Linked DNA regions of Homo sapiens: region 1 is linked to region 2. The links are contacts of gene promoters, found by promoter capture Hi-C in blood cells and fetal thymus (Javierre and others, 2016). All regions are on one chromosome and are shown on one strand. The core of a region is centred on a gene start or on the middle of the fragment in contact, and the rest is flanking DNA. Distances in the headings are between cores, read along the strand shown.

What was found. The method cuts DNA at HindIII sites, captures the fragments that hold promoters and counts their contacts. A CHiCAGO score of 5 or more calls a contact.
Region 1: a contact is called between the fragment with the promoter of CCR5 here and a fragment that was not itself captured in region 2, in 2 of 17 cell types (M0 macrophages and monocytes). The highest score is 7.8, in M0 macrophages.

The regions. Positions count from the first base shown.
Region 1 is chr3:46,367,057-46,372,503 of GRCh38, reverse strand. It overlaps CCR5 (C-C motif chemokine receptor 5), which reads right to left and starts at 1,558. Exons shown (of 2, transcript NM_001394783.1): 1 at 1,516-1,558. It overlaps CCR5AS (CCR5 antisense RNA), which reads left to right. Exons shown (of 4, transcript NR_125406.2): 3 at 1,087-1,260. The HindIII fragment of the contact is 2,671 bases long and covers 1-2,574 here.
Region 2 is chr3:46,115,067-46,119,935 of GRCh38, reverse strand. No RefSeq gene overlaps it. Among named protein-coding and RNA genes, the nearest start is that of XCR1, 90 kb to the right of the region's middle. The HindIII fragment of the contact is 2,088 bases long and covers 2,315-4,402 here.

The DNA of each region.
Region 1 (5,447 bases), core at 309-2,808, 250 kb before region 2:
AGGCTGGAGTGCAGTGGCACGATCATGGCTCACTGCAGCCTGGACCATCCCGGGCTCAAGCAATCCTCTCACCTCACCCCTCCAAGTGGCTGGGGACTACAGGCGCCACCACACCAAGCTAATTTTGTTTATTTTTATAGATACAAGATCACACTATGTTGCCCAGGCTGGTCTCGAACTCCTGGGCTCAAGCGATCCTCCTGCCTCAGCCTCCTAGAATGCTGGGATTACAGGCATGAGCCACCATGCCCGGCTGCAACTCAGTCTTAACATTTTTATTGACGCTAGAGTTAGCCCACAAAGAACATGCACTATGAGCAAGCCAGTAATAATTAAGAGGCCTCGAGGGCACATACTGGATGCCAATCACTGTTCTAAGCATCATACCCATTCATTCATTTAATCCTTAGGGCAACCTTATGAGGCAGGAAATATTTTTCACATTTTGCAGACAAGGACCTTGAAGCACAGAGAGGGTGAGTAACTTGCTCAAAGCCACACAGCTAGTAAGCAACCGATTTTGAATGCGGGAAGCCTGCACTCTTAACTACCATGCTACCCTCCCTCTCAGTCCTCGAAAAGAGAATTAAAAGGCAAGACCATCAGATGTTTGGTGACATGATGTAGTCAGAGTGAAATGGCCGGGTGCCCAAGTCCCAGGGAAGGTCATAGATGACAACAGCCAATTGTAAAATCCTCACATTTTCTGTGAAGTTTGTGTTTGTAGTTTCTGAGTTGCCACAATTAAGAGTTGTCATACATACCCAAGAAATAATATAATAAAAAATGTTTCGTCTGCCACCACAGATGAATGTCATGCATTCTGGGTAGTTTAGTCTTATAACCAGCTGTCTTGCCTAGTCTATTTAAGTTCAGCTGCTCTAGCTGAGAATTTTCTCTTATTAAACCCTGTGAGTCTCAAACTCCCTGCACCTTAGACTAGGCAGCTGAGAGAAGCCCCTAGAAAAGCTCATTTTTAATTTTGAACCATAAAGAATTATATACTAACTGTGCCATGAAACTGATATATTAGAGGAAAATTTTATTTGGCGTTTGTAATTTAATATTAATTTTGACCATTTTTAGGCTTCCCTCTTGTCTGGAGGAAAAAGAAAAAAGAGAACCAGACTTAGACACAACTTCTTGTGGGCACATATTCAGAAGGCATCTCACTGGAGAGGGTTTAGTTCTCCTTAGCAGAAGATAAGATTTCAAGATTTCAGCTAAGACTCATCTCTCTGCAAATCTTTCTTTTGAGAGGTAAGGATTGTTAGTTATTAAAATACTATTGCTCCCTTTAAAGTCTTTCACTCACAATCATGTTTTGTATCTTTGATGTTATAACCGTCTGAAACTCATTCCAAACTGTGACCCTTTCCTTATCTTAAAGATTATATTTTAAGATAATTGTATGAGCACTTGGTGTTTGCCAAATGTCTTCTATGGGTTTCCTGTAAAGTCTTTTACTCATCTCAGAAGCTAACTAACAGGCCAAGCAGCTGAGAGGTTACTTACCGGGGAGAGTTTCTTGTAGGGGAACGGATGTCTCAGCTCTTCTGGCCAGATGAGCTGTGCAAATCAATCATATAGACAGTATAAAAGTAGGAAATGCTGTTTCTTTTGAAGGAGGGTGGAGTTAAATCATTAAGTGTATTGAAGGCGAAAAGAATCAGAGAACAGTTCTTCTTTTTAAGTTGAGCTTAAAATAAGCTAGAGAATAGATCTCTGGTCTGAAGGTTTATTTACGGGCTTTTCTCACTGGATTATTTTGTTTTTGTTCTCTGCTCATCCCACTACACAGAATCTGTTAGAAAATATAAAGAATAAAGGATATCAGAGCTAGAAGAACATTTACATTCATCTAGTCAAAAGCCCACATTTTAGTAAAAGAAATTACTATCCAAGAAGCAAATGATTTGTACAAGATCACAGGGCTTTTCAACAGTAAGGCTAAAAGGTTAAGAAAATTCTGATTATCTTAAGAGTTGCTATTAATTAAAGCCAACTTAAACCAACTTTAAATGTAGAGGGGGATCCTGGACTTCACATTAACCCTGTGTCCCCTTTTTCTCCACTCTCCCCGTATCCCCTATCCCACCCCAACCCCCACACAGATGCTCACCACCCAATATTATTGTTCTCTGTAAACGGAAACAACCTGTTGTCTAAAGAGTTTTAACTATGGGCTCACGGGTGAGCTAAACAGGTTTCCCATCTTTTTCTGGACCCAGGATCTTAGTGGGGATTTTCACTCTGTTCACTATTTTGTTGCCCTTCAAACCAGTAAGCATTTATGAGGACTCACACTATGCCAGATACATAGGTGGCAGGATTCTTCACTCCAGATATAATCTATCTGAAGCTATGAGAAATTTTCCACATGACATAAGTATATGGTCAAGTTCAGGTTCTTTATGACTATACTATATACAGTCATATCAAGCTCTCTTGGCGGTTGGTGACATCTGAAAATCTCAAGTATTGTCAGCAGAGCTGAGAAGACAGCAGAGAGCTACTCCCGAGCCACAAGATGCCCTCTGGGCTTCCGTGACCTTGGCTCTAGAATAAAAAGCTTTGGCTTGTGATCTCTAAGAAGGCAAATGAGACCCCAAACAGCAAAATTACGTGCCCCCAATCCTACAGAGGCAGACTAACCCAGGGGCTAAGCCAGTGGCCTCTGTAGTCAGACTGCCAAGCTTGAAACCTGTCTTACCCTCAGCTTTCTCGTCTGGGTATTGGGCTGAATGACAGTAGTCATTTCATGAGTTGTTGGGAGGATTCTATGAGGCATCCACGGCCAGCATCTAGCACATACTATGCACTCAGTAAACATCAAACTCTTAGTTACTCTTTCAGCAGTCCTTTGTCAGAGAGAGTTTATTTGATCAAATCCTAATAAAATTGGTTCACCGGAGTCTCTGTCTATAGCAGATTAGTTTCAGCAAACTAGAAGCTGAAAAGGTAAAGCTAATTGCTGGTGCTTGGAGAATAGAAAGAAATGACTGCTTGGGAAAAGCCAGAACAGTATAGAAATAGCCCAGCGATCAAGACACCCCCACCCCCGCCCCATATAGGGACATATGTCTGTGCTACAACAGAGCTCAGTAACATAATCATAACAAGGACAGCGAATCATCGAGAAAATGTTCTAGTTCATCCCATATGTGCAATTCAAAAGGCATTGATTAAGAACTGCAGTCATGCTGCTGGGTTTAACCTCCAGCTTCATTACTGCTACTTGGCTCTGACCAAATTATTGAAGCTCTGTGCCTTAGTTTTCTTAACTGTAGAGTGGAGGTTTTAAAAAAACCCAAATACAAACTTACTCAATATGCCTGTGGTGGAGAGGGAATGATAACAAGTGTAGAGCCTTTTGGGCACCCACCCTCGGGGGACTGTTTAAGCAGGGAAATATAAAGTGTGCTTTTGAAAGAGTTCAAAAATAGGTAACAAATAAATTAATATAAAATTTTATAGAAAATAGATAGCATAAATACAACTTTGGTTTTTCGAAAGATAGATAGCCTTGTATTCACTGGTAATCCACTTGTGCAGAACCCCCGGAGGCTGCCGGACCAACACTGTATTTCTGTTTGTGGCAATTGCTGGTTCTTACTTTCACCATGCAGAGCTGAGGCTTTGCCATGTTCTGTTTGTCTGTCATTAGGGTATTGGAGGATGTGAAGACATACTCACCCCCAGAGGGCAATGTGGGCTAGCGGAGCAGGCTCGGAGTCACACACGCTGTGCTGCTGACTTGCTGTGTGACCTCGGCAAGATACTTCCACTGCCCAAGCTTCCATTTCCTCATCTGTTAAATGACGTGCTAGACCTGGGGCAGCTTCCACCCTAAATACTACATGATTCTATGGCCAAGTTAGTTTGAAAAATATAGGCTAGATGGGAAACAAGGTGAGGATTCACAGGCTGAAACAAGGAAGCACAGCTTTGCAGTGTGCGTTACTCCACTTTTGTGTTTCTGGTCCAGAGGTGTGTTCTAGTAACCACTCAGGACAGGGGGGTTCAGCCCAAGGATTCACAAGAAAGTGGGGACCCATGGGAAATTCTTCAGCATTTAAATGAAATGTTGTTCTGGATACAATAATGACAACAAGCTAGCAGCTTATCATGCTGTGACTTAGTTGCTTGGTGTCTGCTACTCTTTCTACTTTGTCCCTCTCAGTTTGCATGGCTCTTGTTCTCTTTTTATTATTAAGTACATTCGGACACCCCATAGGAAATGAACTTTTGATCACTTTGTCACTCTAGACTCCATGCCCATATTGGAGGGTGTTTCGTGCCATCCCTCCTTTTTGGGGCCTTTTTGTCTTTAAACAGCTGCCCCATGTCTAGTCACTGCACCTATGTTCCAAGCATTGCTTTGCTGTCTCCTTGCTCACACCATTTCTGGACCATATTTTCAGAGCATCGTCAACAGGATGGGGAGAATGTTAATTATTCACTTTGGGTGCAAGGGCCAACTACATGAGCACAGTGAGCAGAAACCCTGCCATACAGCAGCTGTTGTGAAAATCCCTGGGGCCTGAGTTGACTCCTGGTCAATATCAGTCAACAGTGAGACGGGCTGTAAAAAGAGCAAATGAATCTTTTATTTTTAAAAACAAATGTCTAGGCCAAGTGCGGTGGCTCATGCCTATAATCCCAGCACTTTGGGAAGCCAAGGCGAGTGGATAACTTGAGGTCAGGAGTTTGAGACCAACCTGGCCAGCATGGTGAAACCCCATCTCTACTAAAAATACACAAAATTAGCTGGATGTGGTGGTGCGCCCCTATAGTCCCAGCTACTCAGGAGGCTGAAGTGGGAGAATCTCTTGAACCCAGGAGATGGAGGTTGCAGTGAACCAAGATTGGGCCATTGCACTCCAACCTGGGTGACAGCAAGCTGTGTCTCAAAACCAAACCAAACAAACAAAATGTCTAATTATAAAACCAACACATGCTCATTGTATAAAATTGGGAAAAACAGAAAAAAGGAAAAACTTAGGTACATTCTCACAGTATCAAAACAATGTCTTTTAAAACATGATGTTTCAATCCTGACTTTTCCCATGCACTTTTCGATTAATTGTTCTCATGCATATACCATTCTGTAGGCGGCTTCTTTTTTTTTTTTTTTTAGCTAAAGATTATAGTGTAGACATTTTCCTATATTATTAAAAAATTCTTTATAAGTGTAGTTCTTTATTATTTTTATTGAGGAAGAACACACTTAGTGGTACAGCTTGGTGAGTTTTGATATGCACACATGCATGTAACTACCACTCCGGATCAAGATGATAAGGAACATCCCTATCACTTCAGAAGGTGCCTTTTGCTCCACCCAGAGGTAAGGGCCACTCTGTCTTCATAGAGATTAAATAAGCCTGTCTTTAACTTCTATAAATGGATTAAAGATACTGTCCTCTTTCCTGTCTGGCTTCATTCAT
Region 2 (4,869 bases), core at 2,109-4,608:
AACTATATCCCTGACATCCTCAGGTTACATGGAGCACTCCTACCTGTGATTTCATAGTGCCCTGAAGCTAGATCCTGTAAGAGCCCTTAGTGTTCCAAATTGTAATTTTCTGTCAAGGTTGGTCATTTTTGTGTTCCCACCTCCAATGCAATGAGTGGCTCATAACAGACACTGAAATGTTTTAACGAGTGATCTGGCCCCCTCTGACCTCTCCTAACCAGAGGGGCAGATGTCCTGGTGTGTTCTTCTTTTGCCCTGAGCACCAGTTAAGTTGGAGTCCTTCTTATGTCTTAAACATCTATGCCTGGCTCTTGGTTTGAGCTGAGTGTATCAGGGTATCACCCAGGGCAGAATGGCAAATTTTTGCCAAATAAATTTAATAAGGAGGACCGAGGCTACTATATTAATAAATCATTACAGACTTCTCTTCTTGCTATGTGCTTTTTCCAGATTTTGTATTCTCATCAGCATGTGATCTTGTTATGACTACATGAATCAGCTAAGGTTGGAGTCTTCATGTATTTCAGCAAAAGTGCCAGGAGGGTGCCTATGGGAGGATGGAACAGCTCATTCGTCGCTGGAGAAGGTGGGATTAAAATTGGCACACACTTTCCAGAGGGTATCTTTCTCTAACTGTATTCTTAGATCTTAAAATTTTTCATACCTTTTGACCCAAGAACTTCATTTCTAGAAATTATCCTCAAAAACAAATCAGAAATATTTGTACAAGAATATTCAATGCTCAACTAACATTTACATTGAAAACTTGGAGGAAGCCTAAGTGTCTAACAGTAAGTTCCTGGTTAAATAAAATATGATGCACCTATATGATAAACTACATATATCATTAAAAATAATTTTGTAGAACTCAAATGATACAAGGAAATACACACAAGACAATGCTAAGTGATAAAAATGGAAAACAGTTTGATCTCAGTTTTACCAAAAAATAAAAAAAGACCAGAAGGAAACACCTCACAACATTAAAAGTGTTGCTGAGTTATGTTATTACAGGGGAAGTTTTGTTTTTATTTTTATTGTATTTTTCTAACTTTTCTATAATAAACAAGTATTACTTTTATTAGAGTGATTTTAATATTAATTATGAAATATTTCAAATATTCAAATATGCAGAAAAAAATTAACACATGCATTAGTTTTCTACTCACACACACACAAAAATTAATCCCAGATTGATTATGGTACATAAATATGAAAAACAAAATGGAGAAACTTTGATAACAAAATATAAAAGACCCTGTATGTGAAAAATCATTTTAAATGGTCCATTTTCAAGGCATGATAATTCTAAGTACTGGCAACCAGCCTGCAAATGTAATAAACCACATGGCTCATGCACCTAGAAAGTCACAATAAATGAACAGAATGTAGAGGAGGGGTCAGCCCATAAAAGGGAAGAAAGTTTCATTATTGGGAAATGGAAACTTAATCAGGGAAGGGGACCAGAGTATAACCTTATAAAGGGGATAATGAAACTTAGGCAATATCTGGAAAGATTGTAACCCCATAGTACTCAACCAATGAGGAACTGGGGGAGGGACTTGCATGCTAGGAGATAAATTACCTGCTGTAACTGCCCCGGGTATGCCTGCCTACCAGACACCTGATCTTGCAAGACTGCCATTAAAAGTCTCGCTTCTGCTGTTCTTCCTATCTCCAAGTATCTTCCTTGAGTTTGGATGGGAGAATATGTTTCTTACAAACTTGGGAATCCATCCGGGATCTCTGTGTTTGCATGGAGTGGGACTCTGGCCAAGAGGGGAGATGCAGCCCACTCAATTTAGGAGGCCCACTCTGTCCGGGTGTCCCAGCTCCCCATAGAGGCCTTAGACAAATCTGAGACTGTTATTCAGGAGGCAACAGAGGCAACACAGGGAAAAAAGCAGGCACCACAACAACCAGGTAACCTGGTGCACAAGCCAAGGTAGGAGAATTGGACTATAAGTACTGCCTTGGTGGTTGGACATTTTCGGAGGTTGAGCATGTGTGACTGAGATGTATCCTAGATACAAAGCGAGTGCAGAGTCCCAATCCGCAGTTCCGTTCTCCTGCAAGTAATTCTCAGGGTGTGCAAGAAACCTCCAGGAGGGAGTGTTGAGTACACAGGGAAACGCTCAGACACAGAGACTGACTGAAAATGGGAAACAGAAATTCTAGGCCTAGGGGACAAAGGAAAGAGGGAGCTAAAGACTCCCTCTGACATTCCCATGGATAGTCCTTTGGGGAGAATGCTACAGGTTTTGAGGGACAACCCTTGAACCAGGGACAAGGAAAAGCAAAAGATAATAAAGCTTTGCTGTTTTATCTGGCCCAAAGACTCCATTCATAATCCTTCAGTCTTTTGGCCTAAGTTTGGTTCAGACAAGTGTTGGGTGTGCTGAGCTTTAATTCTCTATGTAAATAATAAAACCCCATCCTCACAAGAAGAGATAGGTTATGCTGTCTGCCAGATCAAGGAATTAGTTCCCATGTTCCCCCTCAAGAAAGGAGAAAAAGAGCCTAGTAAAAGCTCTGGGACCCCCCTATCATGCTTGCCTCCTCCATACGTCTCACAAAATAGGGGACAGGAAGATCAAGGGGCAACAAAGGGATTAGGGGAAGATTAGAAACCATGGGGGAGCCAAACCATCTACTTCTTTAAATCCTTATCCAAATCTAAGAAAACAATTACAACAGTGTAAGAGGACTACTGAGAACTTCCCTATCCCTTCCGCACAGCAAGCATCTAGCATGTTCCCTCTTAGGGAAGTTTCCATGGGACTGGGAGAGCTTGGCTTTGTAAATCCTCCTCTTATAAGTACTGATGTTAGGAATTTCAAGAAGGAAATGAAACCACTCCTAGAAGATCCCCTCGGTTTAGCAGACCAGCTGGACCAATTCCTAGACCCAGCTTTTACACCTGGGCCGAAATGATGTCTATTATGAATATCCTGTTCACAGGAGAAGAAAGGGGAATAATTAGGAGAGTGACCATAACCAACTGGGAGAGGCAACACCCTCCCAGGCAAGAAGTCTTGCCAGCCAAACAAAAATTTCCAAATGTCAATCCCGAATGGGATAATAATGATCCCAGGCACCAGGCCTGAATGCAAGACTTCAGGGAACTAATAATTAAAGGGATCAAAGAGTCCACTCCTAGGACACAAAATGTTTCAAAGGCATTCAAGATTCAACAAGAAAAAGGAAGAAACTCCCTCTGCATTCCTACAGAGGCTCAAAGATCAGATGAGAAAACACTCTGGATTCTATCCAGAGGACCCATTAGGGCAAGGCCTTTTGAAGGTCTTTGTAACTAAGAGCTGGCCTAACATTATAAAACAATTACAAAAGATCGATGGATGGAATGAGAAACAACCAGGAAAAGTAGTTTGCAGAAAACAATATCCCATTTCTATTGAAGGGAGAAAAGGTCTCCAAGCAGTAATAAAATGATAAAAGATGGACTATTAGAACCCTGCAGGTCACCATACAATATTCCAATTCTCCCAGTCAAAATATCTGGTGGGTCATATAAATTGTTGCAAAATCTAAGGGCTGTAAATCAAATTGTCCAGACCCACCACCCTAGGGTGCCTAAACCCTACACCCTCCTTAGTAAGATACCCTATAAACATAAGTGGTTCAGTGTGGTGGATCCAAAAGACACATTCTGGGCATTTCCCCTAGACTTTAGGAGTAGGGACCTCTTTGCCTTTGAATGGGAAATTCCTATAACTGGGAGAAAACAACAGTACCACCAAACTGTGCTGCCACAAGTTTTCACAGAAGCCTCAAACTTAATTGAAAAAGTCTTAGAAAAAGTCCTGAAGGAATTCCAACCTTCCGAGGGAACCCAGATGTTACAACATGTAAATAATCTTTTAATTTCTGGGGAGAGGAGGCCCGAGGAATCAAAAACCACCCTAAACTTGCTTAATTTCCTAGGAAAAAGGGGATTACGAGTCTCTAAGAACAAATTGCCATTTGTAAAAAAAAGAAGTTAAATATTTAGGAGACCTGATTAGTGAAGGGAAGTAGAAAATAAACCCAAAGAAAATATCGAGGATAGTGGCTCTGCCTTTGCCTTAGACAAAGAGAAACCTCCAAAAATTTTTAGGTTTAACTGGCTATTGTAGGTTATGGATGAACTCATATGCTCAAAAGACAGAGATTCTGTATCTCAAGTTACTAAAGAGGAACCCAATCCCTTGCAATGGTCCCCAAAGGAAATTCAGGCAGTAAAAGAGCTAAAGCAGGCCCTCATCACAGCCCCGGCCCTGGCCCTTCTGTCTTTAAAGAAACTATTCCATCTGTTCGTCACAGTAGATCAGGGCATGGCCCTTGGAGTGCTCACTCAAATCTGGGGAGGGAAGAGGCAACCTGTTGCTTTTGTCTCCAAGCTTCTCAATCCTGTCTCTCAGGGGTGGCCTGAATGTGTGCAAGCAGTAGCTGCCACAGCCCTGCTGGTAGAAAAGAGTTGAAAACTAACCTTTGGTGGGGCCCTAATAGTAAGCATTCCATACCAGGTCAGGAATGTATCAAATTGAAAAGCCGGGAGATAGTTAACGGATTCTCAGTTTCTAAAATATGACGCCATATTACTAGAAAAAGATGATTTGGTTGTAACCACAAATGCTTGCCTGAATCCAGCCAGTTTCCTATGGAAAGGAGAGGAGAACAAAGAGATATCAGACTGTAACTGTTAGATATCATAGAATACCAAACCAAAGTTAAATCAGACCTCAGGGAAGCTCCACTACATGATGGGACAAGGCTGTTTGTGGATGGGTCATCCCAATGATAGATGGCAAGAAAAATAATGGTTATGCTGTCCTTAATGAAAATAAACACTCCTTATGTGAGAAGGGT